Regions from separate parts of the Homo sapiens genome. Here region 2 is linked to region 1. Evidence: promoter capture Hi-C in 16 types of primary human blood cells and fetal thymus (Javierre and others, 2016). All regions are on one chromosome and are shown on one strand. Each heading gives the region's core, a stretch centred on a gene start or on the middle of the fragment in contact. The rest is flanking DNA. Distances are from core to core; before and after follow the strand shown. Region 1 holds the start of XPO6 (exportin 6). Region 2 holds the start of FUS (FUS RNA binding protein).

Evidence for each region. Contacts are between HindIII fragments. The CHiCAGO score rates a contact against its expected background, and 5 or more counts as called.
Region 2: the fragment with the promoter of FUS here is called in contact with the fragment with the promoter of XPO6 in region 1 in 1 of 17 cell types (fetal thymus); the score reaches 9.3 in fetal thymus.

What each region holds. Positions count from the first base shown.
Region 1 is chr16:28,207,093-28,214,872 of GRCh38, forward strand. XPO6 (exportin 6) reads right to left here and starts at 4,873. Exons shown (of 24, transcript NM_015171.4): 1 at 4,274-4,873. The coding sequence starts at 4,276. RefSeq lists silencers at 1,816-2,110, 4,621-5,110 and an enhancer at 3,993-4,991. The HindIII fragment of the contact is 3,886 bases long and covers 1,952-5,837 here.
Region 2 is chr16:31,175,118-31,182,897 of GRCh38, forward strand. FUS (FUS RNA binding protein) reads left to right here and starts at 5,022. Exons shown (of 15, transcript NM_004960.4): 1 at 5,022-5,110; 2 at 7,281-7,305; 3 at 7,396-7,547. The coding sequence starts at 5,098. RefSeq lists enhancers at 3,908-3,967, 4,259-5,019, 4,478-4,547, 5,020-5,781, 5,782-6,542 and 5 more and silencers at 4,708-4,777, 5,418-5,567, 5,688-5,737. The HindIII fragment of the contact is 6,651 bases long and covers 4,998-7,780 here.

The sequences.
Region 1 (7,780 bases), core at 3,623-6,122:
CAAAAATTAGCCGGGTATGGTGGTGGGTGCCTGTAATCTCAGCTACTCAGGAGGCTGAGGCAGGAGAATTGCTTGAACCTGGGAGGCAGAGGTTGCAGTAAGCCAAGATCGTACCACTGCACTCCAGCCTGGGTGCAAAAGCAAGATGCCATCTCAAAAAAAAAAAAGGAAAGAAAGAAAGAAAGAAAACAAACCTTAGCAGGCAATTCAATTTCTAAGCAACTAAAAAAGAAATGCTAATATAAGCAAAAACTCAATTTTGCACACAATTTTCATATTAAGCAACAGCTCGCTCAATACTAAGTAATAATTTCTCAGCAAAGTAGTGGGAACCTCTAACATGTCACACCACTTAAGAATCCATGGGAATGCAACAAAAAATGATTTAATCAAATACAGTTATAGTATGCTAGCTCTTCCTGTAATTCTATACTGCAACTATAAATCTTTTTAAACTGGTTCTAAATGTGAAGGTCAACAGGGATAGTGTAAACAAAATTCCCCATACTCCCTATGCTCCACCACTATCTATCTCTAAGCCAAACAACATACAGGTGGAAGACTCTCCTGATCTTCCTTCCCATGAGGCAGCACCCAAAGAGCACAGGCTCCGGAGTACAGCACTTTGGGTCTAAATGCCAACTCCACCACTTGTCAACTAGGAATCACAGAGCAGGTCTGTCCATCTCCCGCTCTGGCAGGAACAGCCATAGTGGAACCTAGCAGAGTTGGTGGGGTTTACTGATACTGAATGACTAAGAGAAAAACTTGGCCAGGCGCAGTGGCTCACGCCTATAATACCAGAACTTTGGGAGGCCAAGGCGAGTGGATCACCTGAGGTCAGGAGTTCGAGACCAGCCTGGCCAACCTGGTGAAACCCCATTTCTACTAAAAATACAAAACAAAAAAAAAAACTAGCTGGGCGTGCCTGTAATCCCAGCTACTCAGGAGGCTGAGGCTGGAGAATCATTTGAATCCAGGAGGCAGAGGTTGCAGTGATCCAAGATCATGCCACTACACTCCAGCCTGGGTGACAGAGCGAGACTCCGTCTCAAAAAAAAGAAAGAAAAAACAAGTAATGAGTGAAGAATAGCTAGCACATCAAAGATGCTTAATAAGTGGTAGTTTTTATCACATTACGCCACTTTCAAGTCTTATTAGAGTTGAAGATTTAAAAAGAAGATGTTAAAAGGGCTCAAACTTATGCCAACTAATACCCTTAAAAGTAAAAATGTTAAGTCAGCAAGAAATGGAGAGGAAATAATTTCCTGGAATAAAGAGCTGGGATCCCAGGGAAAAGACCCTCCGCCTGTAAGACACCAGCCAGGCAACAGTTTCCTTACCTTTGGGGGACAGGGCCTACCCTACCCAAGCCCCTGACCCTGGGATACCTACAGATGAACCACTGTGTCAGTGACACAAAAAGGACAATCCTATTCACATCAACTATGGCCACCCCCTGTGTACTTAAATAACTGAGGTCTAGGTGACAAAAACTTTGACTTGCAACGTACCTCAGAAAAAATGCACATGGAGTTCATGAAGCCAACTACTTTACAATTCATTACTCAAAGGTGGTCATTCCCATGATGCTCTACTGACTGCCAATTAAAATGAAACCTCAATACAAGGGTGCTGGGCTAGCTCAGTCAATAACAAAATTCTGTCCAAGGGTCCTAAAGCAATGCTGTAAGTTTCCCAAGGGGAGGAATGTGTGTCTTGTTCATCTGTACATGCCCTAGGCCCTGGTATATGGTGGTGGCTACTGAAAATTCACTTGTAAGATTTGTACACCCATATTCACAGCAGTATTATTCACAATAGCCAAAGGGTGGAAGCAACCCAGGTATCCACCGAAGGATGAAAGGATATATGAAATGCAGCACATACTCACAATGGAATTCAGCTTTCAAAAGGAAGGAAGCTCTGACACACGCCACCACACGGATGAAGCTTGAGAACACTGTGCCATGTGAAATAAGGCAGTCACAACAGGCCAAATACTTCATGACTCCACTTACATGAGCTACCTAAAGTAGTCAAATTCATAGAAATAGAAACTAAAGTAGGGCAGGGGAGAGACTGAAAAAAGACGGGTACAGGTTGTTTTGGGAAAAAACCTTTGGAGATATATGGTGGTGATCGTTGCACAACAATGTGAATGTTCTTAATTTCACTAAACTGTACACTTAAAAATGGTTAAAATGGCTAATTTTAATTATGTATATTTTACTACAATTAAAAAACAAAACTTAAGTATATTGAGGCCGGGCGCGATGGCTCATGCATGTAATCTCAGCACTTTGGGAGGCCGAGGCGGGTGGATCACCTGAGGTCAGGAATTCAAGACCAGCCTGACCAACATGGTGAAACCCCATCTCTACTAAAAATACAAAATTTAGCCGGGCATGGTGGCGCATGCCTATAATCCCAGCTACTCGGGAGGCTGAGGCAGGAGAATCACTTGAACCCGGGAGGCAGAAGTTGCCGTGAGCTGAGACTGCACCACTGCACTCCAGCCTGGGCAACAACAGCTGAACTCCATCTCAAAAAAAAAAAAAAAAAAAGCATTACTGAAAGAATAAATGAAGGAAGGAATGAGTGCTACTTTCATTAGCCACTAAATGTTATACCTCATACCTCTAGATTACTCTTTAGAGAAATCCTATCCCCAAATTTCATAGTTGAGGAAATTGGAACTGAGAGCTTAACTGATTTGCCACAATTCATACTGTGTAATATATATGTTAAAATACATAGACTCAGCTGTGCACGGTGGCTCACGCCTGTAATCCCAGCACTTTGGGAGGCTGAGGAGGACGGATCACTTGAGCTCAGGTTCAAGACCAGCCTGGGGAACGTGGTGAGACCTCATCTCCACAAAAAATTAGCCAGGCATGGTGGCACTTGCCTGCAGCCCCAGCTACTTGGGAGGCTAAGGTGGGAGGACTGCTTGAGCCCAGGAGGTCGAGGCTGCAGTGAGCCATGAACGTGCCACTGCACTCCAGCCTAGGAAACAAAGCAAGACCCTGTCTCAAAACAAATAAAAATAAAACACATACACTATACGTATAGCATATACTGTACGGTGCTGCTCAGCATTAATGGTGTACTTTACCCAGCTGGTTGTAAGCTCCATATCTCAGGACCTACACACTACCCACAGGCCCCTTGAATGTTTCGAAAATTCCACAGGCCTTAAGGTCTGTATCACAAAAGATGCAGCTATGTCCCTTTCTCTATTATACCACTAACTTGGCAGGGGTAAAATGGGTGAAACTGAGGAGAACAGCTCCACTCCTCGAGGTGCTCAACCACAGGCTAGGTGATCCAGTACTTACCAAGGGCTTACTATGTGCCAGGAGCTGGAGCAGATAAGGGTTCAAACAATTTGGTCTTTGAAGGAGCTGTGTATACCGCAATAGACAGATAAGGCTCAGAAATAATTACAAGAGCAAAAAGGCAAATGCTTAACAAAGAGATGTGGGTACACACATTTAGGGGAGTATTGAAAGTATCGGTCTAGAAAACGTGGAGATGTGGATACACAAAGAGATGTGAGTACACACATTTAGGGGAGTATTGAAAGTATCGGTCTAGAAAACGTGGAAGGTAGCTTCAGCAGAGATCAGAGCATGTAGAATAGCAGCCTCAGTGTCAAAAGATCACGACCATTCCTGACTTTGCCATCACCTGTGCAAGTGACCTCTGTAAATCGCTCTGTTTCCTCATATATAAACCTACAGCTAGATGAGATGTTTCTCCTACAATCACCCAGCTCTCTAAGTGTATTAGAGATGCCTAGGTTCAAAGTCAGATGCCTAGGTTCAAATCTTAACACTGTTAAAAAGTCGCTTGACCTTGAGCTGGGGAATTAATTGCTCCGTGCCTCAGTCTCCCCACTTCCGAACAGAGGGCTGGTGTGATCATTAAATACTACTGCACTGTCAATCACTTCGCGCAGGGCCTTGGCAAGTAGTAAGCCCTCAATAAACGATAGTTATTATCCGGAGGAGCTGCAGGAGGCAAACACCAGATGCAAGGGTTGTGCCTGCTGCGCTCCCAGGGCCCTCCCAGGCCTGAGCCATCATCCCTGGGGGGATGGGAGCGCAGGGCCGGGGCTGCACACTCTGCACGCATGTGTCACCGGCCAGGCTCCGCACGCGCCTCTCCCCGCCATGGGGAGAGCAGCGATGGCTCAGCAGCCCCGGGGCCCATTCCCACCCTTCCGGTAGGGCACCCCAGGAGGGAAGGGGGCTCCAATTCCACTTACCATGCTGGCCGGGGAGGGGGCGGCTCAGATGAGCTGGTTCTTGGGCTTCGGACACGTCCCGCTCGCACAGTTCAGGTCATGGTCCCGGCAGACTCGGGAAGTCCCCCACCCATGCAAAGACAACCCCTTCCCCACCGGGCCCCGAGGGGACCCTCTAAAAAGGGCAGGGCCGCCCGGGTCGCCTCATCGGGGGACCCCGAGACAATTCATCCAGACCCACCCGCCCCTCCCCAAGGAAACTGAAAAAGCAGGAAATGAGGCTCGGATGCCGGCGAGGAGGGCAGCTGCTCGGGACCCCCGCCCGGGCCCGACCCCCGCGGGGGAGGCTGCGGGCCCAGGCAGGGGCTCCCCGGCCTCCGCGGGCAGAGGTGGCGGCGGCCCCGGCCCCGAGGCTGAACGGGCGGAGGCTGACAGGCCTCGACCGCGCGGCCCAGGCGGCCGGCTCAGGGGAGAGGCCCGGGGGCCCGCGCTGTCCTCGCAGCCTCAACCCACACGGCCACTGCCGCCGCCCCCTAGAGCATCCTTGCGCGCGCCCGCCCTGGAGCCGCCCGCTAGTACCGCGCGGCCGCCCCCGACCAACAGCCCCAACGCGCCGGAAGTGGCGAGCGCCGGGCGGCCCCACAGCGCGGCCGCCGGGCTGCGGCGCTGGAACCGGACCAATCCGGAATCGAGCGGGGCGAGCGGGGGGAGCGGGCGGAGGGCGGAGGGCGGGGCTGCACCTGACGGCTCCCACTGGCCCCGCCTTCTTACCACGCCCTCTCTTGCCCCGCCCCCTGCGCCCACCGCCCGTGCGTCCACGCGGGCCGGCAGCCATCTTGGTAAAGGGAGCCCGGGCTGCCATTTTAGTAAAGGCGTGGTTTCCCTTTCGCTTTTTTCGCCCATTCATTCCGCTAAAATTTTAGTGAGTGCCTTTTACGGGCGGAGCATCGAGCTGGCAGCGTGACGACACGCGGCCCTATGGAGCTTACATTCATGCAGTCCACACACTCTTGCCCGACTATATTCCAGGCCCTGCTGTGGATGCTAGGACAGGGGAGATAAACGTAACTTCGATAGCCAAGGTGCTGAGAGAGGCAGAGAATGTGTTGGATTCCTGTTCCCATCCTCCAATCCACTTTACTCGTGAAAGTGCTCATCTTTATTTTGTTTTATTTTTGGGGACAGGTTCTTGCTCTGTTGCCCAGGCTGGAGTGCGGTAACACAATCATGGCTCACTGCAGCCTCAACCTCCTGGTGCGCCACCATGCCCAGCTAAATTTTTTTATTTTTTGCAGAGGTGAGGCCTCCTTTTGATGCTTGGGCTGGTCTGGAACTCCTGGGCTCAAGCAGCTTTCCTGCCTCAGCCTTCCAAAGTGCTGGGATTACAGGTATGAGTCATCCAGCCAGGCTGAAAGTGCTAATTTTAAGAAACAGTCAGGAAACTATCCCAAACAGCTGAGGTTGAGCCCGCGGGTGTGCCTACTACATAGATTGGAGCAAATCTATGTAACCCAATGGCCCTTGTCAACCTTAAATAACGAGATTGAGAAAATAGTATTTAAGTATAGGGTTTATTCAAGCCCGAAGCTTGAAGATGGCCCACCAGAAGTATAGTCCAATTAGTGGCAGTTACAAATGGGGTTTCCTTGTTTGTTTGTTTGTTTTTAAGACAGGGTCTTGCTCTGTCGCCCAGACTAGAGTGTAGTTTGTTGTTGTTGTTGTTTGAGACGGAGTCTCGCTTTGTCGCCCAGGCTGGAGTGCAATGGTGCAATCTCAGCTCACTGCAACTTCCGCCTCCCGGGTTCAAACGATTATCCTGCCTCAGCCTCTCGAGTAGCTGGGACTACAGGCACCCACCATGATGCCCGGCTATTTTTTTTATTTTTAGTAGAAACGGAGTTTCACCATAGTGGCCAGGCTGGTCTTGAACTCCCGACCTCAGGTGATCCGCCAGCCTCGGCCTCCCAAAGTGCTGGGATTACAGGCGTGAGCCCTCCCGCCTGGCTTCAAGTGGGTTTCTAAGGAAAAAAGAGGCATAACATAAGGTTGAATAGGAATGATGAGAAAGGGGGAAAAAATAACATAAGCTATTGCCTATACATTGTTCTTTGTATCACAAATTTCAGGAACCTGAAGGAAATGGGGGAGGCAGCTAGTCTGGAACAAAATATCTTTAAACAATTGTCCCCGAGCATGTGGAGGTGGGAGTGTGCCCGAACTCCCATACACAAGTCTCAGTGGACCTGACAAATTTTGCATACTTCACATAACTCAGACTTCCCTGAGCTATTTTTCTTTCCTGTCAAACCTCAGTGTGATCTGAATCAATTCACCCAGAAGGACTGTTAAAACAAAGATTACTCGCTCCACTCATAGACTTTCCCATCCAGTAGGTTTGAGATGGGGCTGAATAATTTGCATTTCTAACAAGCTCCCAAATGAAGCTGATGCTGCAGGTCTAGATACCACATTTGGAGAACCACTGATACAACACTTTACCACTGAAAGCAATAGCTTTCAGGGGTTTTTTAGTTTTTTGTTTGTTTGTTTGTTTGTTTGTTTTTGGAGAAAGGGTCTCACTCTGTTGCAGTGACATGATCATGGCTCACTGCAGCCTCAAACTCCCAGCCTCAAGCACTTTTTTTTTTTTTTTAATGAGACAGAGTTTCGGTCTTGTTGCCCAGGCTGGAGTGCAATGGCATGATCTCGGCTCACCGCAACGTCCGCCTCCTGGGTTCAAGCAATTCTCCTGCCTCAGCCTCCCAAGTAGCTGGGATTACAGGAGCCCACCACCGCACCCAACTAATTTTTTGTATTTTCAGTAGAGACGGGGTTTCACCATGTTGGTCAGGCTGGTCTCAAACTCCCGACCTCAGGTGATCCACCCGCCTCGTCCTCCCAAAGTGCTGAGATTACAGGCATGAGCCACCGCGCCAGGCCATCAAGCACTATTTTTTTTTCTCTTGAGAGGGAGTTTCGCTCTTGTTGCCCAGGCTGGAGTACAATGGTGCAATCTCGGCTCACTGCAACCTCTGCCTCCCAGGTTCAAGCAATTCTCCTGCCTCAGCCTCCCAAGTAGCTGGGATTACAGGCACCTGCCACCACACCCAGCTAAATTTATTTTTGTATTTTTAGTAGAGACGGGGTTTCGCCATGTTGGCCAGGATGGTCTCACCTCCTGACCTCAAGTGATGCGCCCACCTCGACCTCCCAAAGTTCTGGGATTACAGGCATGAGCCACCATGCCCAGCCTCAAGCACATTTATTTTATCAAATCTTTATTGTTGTCCACTAAGTGACAGTCACTATTTCAAGGATTCAATGCTGAGCAAAACAAATATATGTGTGCCCTTATGGAATTTAAAGACAAATTATTTGTAAAATATTGTACAATAATGGATCAGTTATTGTGATAAGAGCAATGAAGGAAAAATTGAAACTAACATGATATAACTTTAATATAGTTTACACGCTAATAAGGCCAAGGGATCTAAAATAATCTGGCAGATTAGGATGGGGAGGAAGTCA
Region 2 (7,780 bases), core at 3,772-6,271, 3.0 Mb after region 1:
TTTGGGAGGCCGAGGAGGGGTGGATCACGAGGTCAGGTGTTTGAGACCAGCCTGGCCAACATAGTGAAACCCCGTCTCTACTAAAAAAAAATACAAAAAATTAGCCAGGCGTGGTGGCGGGTGCCTGTAATCCCAGCTACTTGGAGGCTGAGGCAGGAGAATCGCTTGAACCTGGGAGGCAGATATTGCAGTGAGCCGAGATCGCGCCATTGCACTCCAGCCCAGGCAACAGTGCGAGACTCCATCTCAAACAAATATATATAAATATAAATAAATATATATATATATGTAACTTCCTGGCACGATGGCACAGACCTGTAATCCCAGCACTTTGGGAGGCCGAGGCGCGTGGATCAGGAGGTCAGGAATTCAAGACCAGCCTGGCCAAGATGGTGAAACCCTGTTTCTACTAAAAATACAAAAAATTAGCCAGGCGTAATGGTGGGAGCTTGTAATCCCAGATACTCGGGAGGCTGAGGCAGAGAACTGCAAACTCCGGAGGCGGAGGTTGCAGTGAGCTGAGATTGTGCCACTGCACTCCAGCCTGGGTGACAGAGGGAGACTCTGTCTCAAAAAAACAAACAAAAAAATTAAATAAATAAATTAAAACTAACTAACTAAATAAATATCTGGATATCTGAGCTGGGTGCAGTGGCTCATGCCTCTAATCCCAGCACTTGGGAAAGCAAGGCAGGCAGATCATTTGAGGTCAGGAGTTCGAGACCAGCCTGGCCAACATAGGGAAACCTCATCTCTACTAAAAAAATTAGTTGGGTGTGGTGGTGCACATCTGTAATCCCAGGTACTCAGGAGGCTGAGGCAGGAGAATTGCTGGAACCTGGGAAGTAGAGGTTGCAGTCAGCTGAGATTGCAGCACTGCTCTCCAGCCTGGGTGACAGAGTGAGACTCTGTCTCAAAAAAAAATCAATATCTGATATACGTGTTTATTTTTTTATTGAGATGGAGTCTTGCTCTGTCGCCCAGGCTGGAGTGCAATGGCACAATCTCTGCTCACCGCAACCTCTGCCTCCCTGGCTCAAGCAATTCTCCTGCCTCAACCTCCCGAGTAGCTGGGACTACAGATGCGCGCCACCATGCCCGGCCAATTTCTGTATCTCTAGTAGAGATGGGGTTTCACCAGGTCGGTCAGGCTGGTCTCGAACTCCTGACCTCATGATCTGCCCACCTCAGCCTCCCAAAGTGCTGGGATTACAGGTGTGAGCGAACGCATCTGGCCCAATATCTGATATACATGTTAATTGAAACTGGGTGTGGTGGTCACACCTTTAATCACAGCACTTTGGGAGGATTCCCTTGAGCCTAGGAGTTCAAGACCAGCCTGGGCAACATAGCAAGACCCTGTCTCAAAAAAGAAAAATTTAACATTGACTTTCCTGTCAGAGATAGGAAGTAAATAAGACATTTATGGTGAACTTAAAGCACATATGGCAGCTAAAGGTGACAGTGTCTCACTCCAGCTGACCCTTGCCCTATGGAAGTGGGCCTGGAATGGCCCACTATTTTTAGTGTTGGCAACTAGTTAAAAAAATTAAAACATTCGAGGCAGGTGGATCACTTGAGATCAGGAGTTCGAGAACAGCCTGGGCAATATGGTGAAACCCCGTCTCTACTAAAAATAGGAAAATTAGCTGGACATGGTGATGCATGCCTGTAATCTCAGCTACTCGGGAGGCTGCAGCACAAGAATTGCTTGAACCCGGGAGGCAGAGGTTGCAGTGAGCTGAGATCACGTCACTGCACTCCAGCCTGGGTGACAGAGTGAGACTCCATCTCAAAAAAAAAAAAAAAAGAAAGAAAGAAATGGCCATTTGATTTAGTCTTTCAGAGTCACATATTTTTTTTTTTTTGAGGCCGAGTCTCATCTGCCACCATGCCCAGCCCAGAGTCACAGCTGGAGCCTGAACTCTGCCTCAGTGTCTTCCCCACTTGTGCCTTTGTCTTCGCGGTTCTGCCTATTATAGCCTTTCCTCCCTTGCTGCTTGGCAAACTTCTACTTATCCAGTAAGCCTTGGCTTCAGGGTTACCATCTCTCTTTAGTGTTCTGTGGTTGTCCACCTGATGGATGACTTACTCTGCTGGCAGGGTTTCCAGTCTTTGATTCCATGTGATGGCACTTACTACACTCAAGTACACTTTGTGGTCTGTGTGTCTCACCCACATTCACCCACTGGCTGGTCCTGTGGTTTAGGAACTGAGCTTTTTTTTATCCATATCCATCCAGTCGGCCCCATGATTGGAACATACTATGCAGTGCTCAGGCAATGTTTGCTGAAGCGCAGGGGTTAAGAGCAGGCTACCTGGCTTGGGAACCCAGCTTTGCCACTTCCTGTGTAGCTTCAGCATAACTTTCCGTCTTTCTTTTTTTTTAGAGACAGAGTCTTGCTCTACTCTATCATCCAGGCTGCAGTGCAGTGGCGCGATCTCGGCTCACTGCAACCTCTGCCTCCGGGGTTCAAGCAATTCTCCTGCCTCAGCCTCCTGAGTAGCTGGGACTACAGGTGCGCGCCACTATGCCTGGCTAATGTTTGTATTTTTAGTAGAGACGGGGTTTCACCATGTTGGTCAGGCTGGTCTCGAACTCCTGACGTTGTGATCTGCCCTCCTTGGCCTCCCAAAGTGCTGGGATTACAGGCGTGAGCCACCGTGCCCGGTCAACTGCCTGTCTTTCTATGCTTATTTCCTCATCTGTAAAATGTCATCCTTAGCAGGGCGTGGTGGCTCACACCTGTAATTCCAGCAATTTGGGAGGCCAAGGCAGATGGATCATCTGAGGCCAGGAGTTCGAGACCAGCCTGGCCAACATGGTGAAACCCCGTCTCTACTAAGAATACAAACATTAGCTGGGTGTGGTGGCGCACACCTGTACTCCCAGCTACTTGGGAGGTTGAAGTTGTAGAATCACTTGAACGCGGGAGGCACATGTTGCAGTGAGCCGAGACGGCGCCCCTGCACTCCAGCCTGGGTGACAGAGTGAGACAGTGTCCCCCCAAAAAAAAAAAAGATAAAATGTCATCCTCACATCAGCCTTTTGTTGTGAAAAATAAAATCAAGAGTTTACTCAGTCAGAACAGGGCCTGACAGTAAGTCTTGTTAAAGTGTTAGCTATTACATATTATAGATGAGCACAATGTATATCATTATTAAATGTCAGCTTTATTATTATTATTTGTTTTGAGACAGTCTTGCTCTGTTGCCCAGGCTGGAGTGCAGTGGCACGTCTTGGCTCACTGCAACTTCCGCCTCCTGGGTTCAAGCGATTCTCCCATCTCAGCTTCCTGAGTAGCTGGGATTACAGATGCGCGGACGACGCCTGGCTAATTTTTGTATTTTTAGTAGAGACGGGGTTTCACCATGTTGGCCAGGCTGGTCTCGAACTCCTGACCTCGTGATCCACACGCCTCGGCCTCCCAAAGTGCTGGTATTACAGGCGTGAGCCACCGCACCCGGTCAGCTTTATTATTAAATGTTAACTTCATCTGCTTTGTACACGAATGCATACCCAGTGCCCAGAACAGTGCCTGGAACATACTAGGTGCTAAATAAATATTTGTGACTTAATGCATGAATAAGGGTGGACTTCCTTTCTTTTGCTCTCACTGGAGAGTTGAACTCTCCTTCCAAAGGCGGTGGGGTGGATATTGGCATATTCAGGGCCTTTAGGGCTGAAGTCAAGGGCTTAGTGGGGCTTAATTTGTGGGCGGGCCCAGGGCATGGCCCTCATTGTTTCTCTAGAAAGACGTGTCCAACCCTCAAAGGACCTTCTGAAATCCCGCTGAAAGGTTAAGTTGGGAAGGAAAACCTGCATGCCTATGTATCAGGAATTAACGTCTTTTGTCTTGTTTTATTCAGTAGTTTCAAATTGCCTTCTCCAGGCAAGGCTGATGAAAGTGCAAGTTGCAAGTTAATTTGAATGTTTCTTTTTGCTTTTGCTCTCACAGGAAGTGAAAAGGCGACCAAACACTCTAGCATTCATGCCACCAAAAAGAGGAGTGTTTTGCAGTTACAAGACCTGGATTCGAATCACGACTCCTCTTAGCTGCCCTGTAATCAGGCACAATTACTTGGGTCTCTGAGTCTCACTTTCCTTATCTAGAAAACGGAGGTATCTTTACTTCCTTCGTAAGACTGATGACAAGGAAATTATCTGTGCATTTTGAAACCACTTAAGCCTTGTACACGTTTTATTTCTGGGATCGCCCTGGTAGGGCTTCAGAAAAATAAAAAGGAGGTCCCTGAGAAAAGGCTGGGTACCGTACATCTGAGGTCAACCCTCTCTGGTCCCAAGGATGGCCTGGGCTGTTCCGCCCCGTGGCTCCCCAGGGGCAAAGCCATGAGGATCCGGGTGAGAGCCCAGTGCTGGACGAGCCCGGGGCCCAGGGGTCCCGGCCGAAATCCCTGCTGTCTTTCAGGTCAAACGTCATAATCCCCGAACCCCAGAAAGGCCGAAAGGCAAGGCAACCCTGAAAGACGACGAAGTCAACCTCAGGGCGCAGGAGAGGGAGGGCCAGTGTGCTGCCGACGAGGGAGGCTGGAGCCGCGGGGACGAGGCGCCCCATACAGCGGCAAGAGGGTGGAGGGCAGGAGCTCGCCATCCTGGGTGAAAGCGGGGCCCAGCGAAGGGGCCCGGCCACAGGAATCTCGGTTCCACCCCGCTACTCCCGGCTGTGACTCCAGTTTCGTCCCCAGCCGCCGGGACCGCCCCCTCGCCCCGCCCCCAGCGGGCACTCAGGCCGTACCACTGTGCCTTCATGGGGGTGGAGATAGATCGTGGGCTAGTCCTGCCGAGGAGAGAGGGGTTCTTCCTCAAAAAATATGATTATGTATAGTATTCGCATGATTCTAGTTAACTTGTTTCCCTTCTGCCTGCTCGGACCCTCTACCTGCCCTACGAAGGGGGCGGAGTGCGTTCCTGCCTCCCCCTGCTCTTCCGCGTTTGGTGCGCGCCTGCGCGGTGCGTAGGCGGCGGAGCGTACTTAAGCTTCGACGCAGGAGGCGGGGCTGCTCAGTCCTCCAGGCGTCGGTACTCAGCGGTGTTGGAACTTCGTTGCTTGCTTGCCTGTGCGCGCGTGCGCGGACATGGCCTCAAACGGTAGGTAAGGGCGCGAGGCGACGGCGGCGGCGCACCCGGCCGAGGCCTCCCAGCTGGGCTTTTCGTTTTCAGTGGGACCGGGGCGGCGATCCCGTGTGGGATTTTTTGGCGCCCCTGTGGCGGGAAGCCGCGGAGAAGAGTAACTGGAGGAGGCTGGTGTCGCCATTTTGTTTCGCTCCTCTGGCCCTCGCGCGCGGGGCGGGAAGTCTTTTCTTTGCAGTCCGTTTGCTTGGGGTGGGCGTTGGGAGGGACGCTTCTTAGGGGTTTGAAGCGTCAGGTGAGGGTGGAAAACGCCCATTCTCCGTGGCCTCGCCTCCCCCAACTCCCGGCCCCGCGCTCGAGCCCGCTTTGTCGCAGTGCTGCATCCGGGCACTCGCGGCGCGCACGCGCTCTGCGGGCCCCTCCCCCTTCGCGGCGCGGGTACCCCTTCCCCGCCTCGTGTTGGTTCAGCTTTCTGTCGCGAGACCCTTCGCGGAAGACTCGGCGGCGCGCGTCCGGTGTGAGCCTTGTCCCTCAGTGGTCCTTCGCGAATGGGCGGGATCGCTCCGTTCCCGCCTGGGTTGCCACGCGGCTGGGGGCGGAGGCTCGGGATCGGGGCCGCCCTCTAGCTTAACGGTTTGGCGGCGGTGGTCAGGGTTCGACCAACGGACTTGGGGACGGCCCGAGAGTTTTTCCCGCCTAAATTTCTTTCTTTTTTTTTTTGGAGACACGGTCTTCCTCTGTCGCCCAGGCTGGAGTGCAGTGGTGCGATCTCAGATCACTGCAACGTCCACCTCCTGGGTTCAAGTGATTCTTCTGCCTCAGCCTCCTGAGTAGTTGGGATTATAGGCGCCCGCCACCACAGCCCGGCTAATTTTTGTGTTTCTTAGTAGGGGCGGGGTTTCACCATGTTGGTCAGGCTGGTCTCGAACTGCTGACCTCAGGTGATCCGCCCGCCTGGGCCTCCCGAAGTGTCGGGATTACAGACGTAAGCCAACCACGCCTGGTCTAAATTTCTTTTTTCTGAGATAGGGACGGAGAAGAACGGCCGCCCGAGGCCACACCCTCTCCTGGTCCTCTTTCCCTTTTCCTGCGGGGGAAGCGCCGCGTTTCCTGTGCTGGGAGGATGAGTTGATCTTGTTCGTGTATCTTAAGTGGGGCTTTTCAAAAGCGCTTTTGTTGCTTTTTGTTCGCTGGGGGAAGGCAGGGTAGGTGAGAAAACGGAACCATCTGGAGTCCCAGGGCTGGGGACTCGAGTACCTGTTGACTTTCGCCTCCTAAGGCGAGCAGTTGCATGATCTCTGTCATTTGGGGTCCAAGGGCTCTTTTGATTCTCTGGCTTTGCACTAAAAAGCCCACTTCATCTCCGGGATTGGTCAAAGAGTGAAGAATGGCCTTTTTTGAGACTTTCTTATTCTGTGGGTCTGGGCTGAGAGAGCAGAGGCCACAATCTGAACACTGTTCGAATTCAAACCTGTGCCACTTTGGTAGTTCTGCGACGTTGGGAGAGTTAGTCTCTTGACTCCTGGCGATAATGGCTTTCTCATAGAGTGGATGAAACGAATGCGCGATGTTTTAGAGCAATCACTGACATGAATTGGGCTTGCAGAAAATTGTGGATGTCCACCAAGACCTTGGTTTTTCCAATGGTTAAGGCTTCTGGGACTCTGTAGAAACTTGCATTTTCTTCACTTTTTCTTTATTGTAAGAACACTTGGCTGATAACGCCAGTTTGTTCCTCTTCTCAACCAGTGTCTCATGGAGGAATTTTATGCCCTTTGTTGCAACATGGTCCTATTTTTATTTTTTTTTTTGAGATGGAGTCTTGCTCTGTTGCCAGGCTGGAGTGCAATGGCTCACTGCAACCTCTGCCTCCCGGGTTCAAGCGATTCTCCTGCTTCACCTCCCGAGTAGCTGGGATTACAGGCGTGCGCCACCATGCCCGGCTAATTTTTTGTATTTTTATTAGAGATGGGGCTTCACCATGTTGGTCAGGCCAGTCTCGAATTCCTGACCTCAAGTGATCCACCCACCTCGGCCTCCCAAACTGCTGGGATTACAGGCATGATCCACCGTGCCTGGCCTACGTGGTCCTTTTTATTCATCAGTGCTTGAGTTAAGGAATTTAGCTTTAATTCAACTCTTTCAGAGTGGCAGCTGAAGATAATGTGATTGTATTTTTCTTTTGCAGATTATACCCAACAAGCAACCCAAAGGTGAGTGCTATTTTTGGGCTTCCAGAGTTTGTAGAGGGCAAGGGTGGTCACGCCATGTTTTCTGATCACGCTGGTTTTCCTTTTATTTAGCTATGGGGCCTACCCCACCCAGCCCGGGCAGGGCTATTCCCAGCAGAGCAGTCAGCCCTACGGACAGCAGAGTTACAGTGGTTATAGCCAGTCCACGGACACTTCAGGCTATGGCCAGAGCAGCTATTCTTCTTATGGCCAGAGCCAGAACAGTGAGTCTTTCTCAGCGGGTCACCTCTTCCTACTCTTTCTGAATATTGCTTTTCTTTTTCTTGTTTTTTGGAGACGGAGTCTGGTCCTGTTGCCCAGGCTGGAGTGCAGTGGTGCTGTCTCAGCTCACTGCAACATCAGCCTACCGGGTTCAAACGATTCTCCTGCCTCAGCCTCCTGAGTAGCTGGGATTACAGGTACCTGCTACCACGCCTGGCTAATTTTGTGTTTTTAG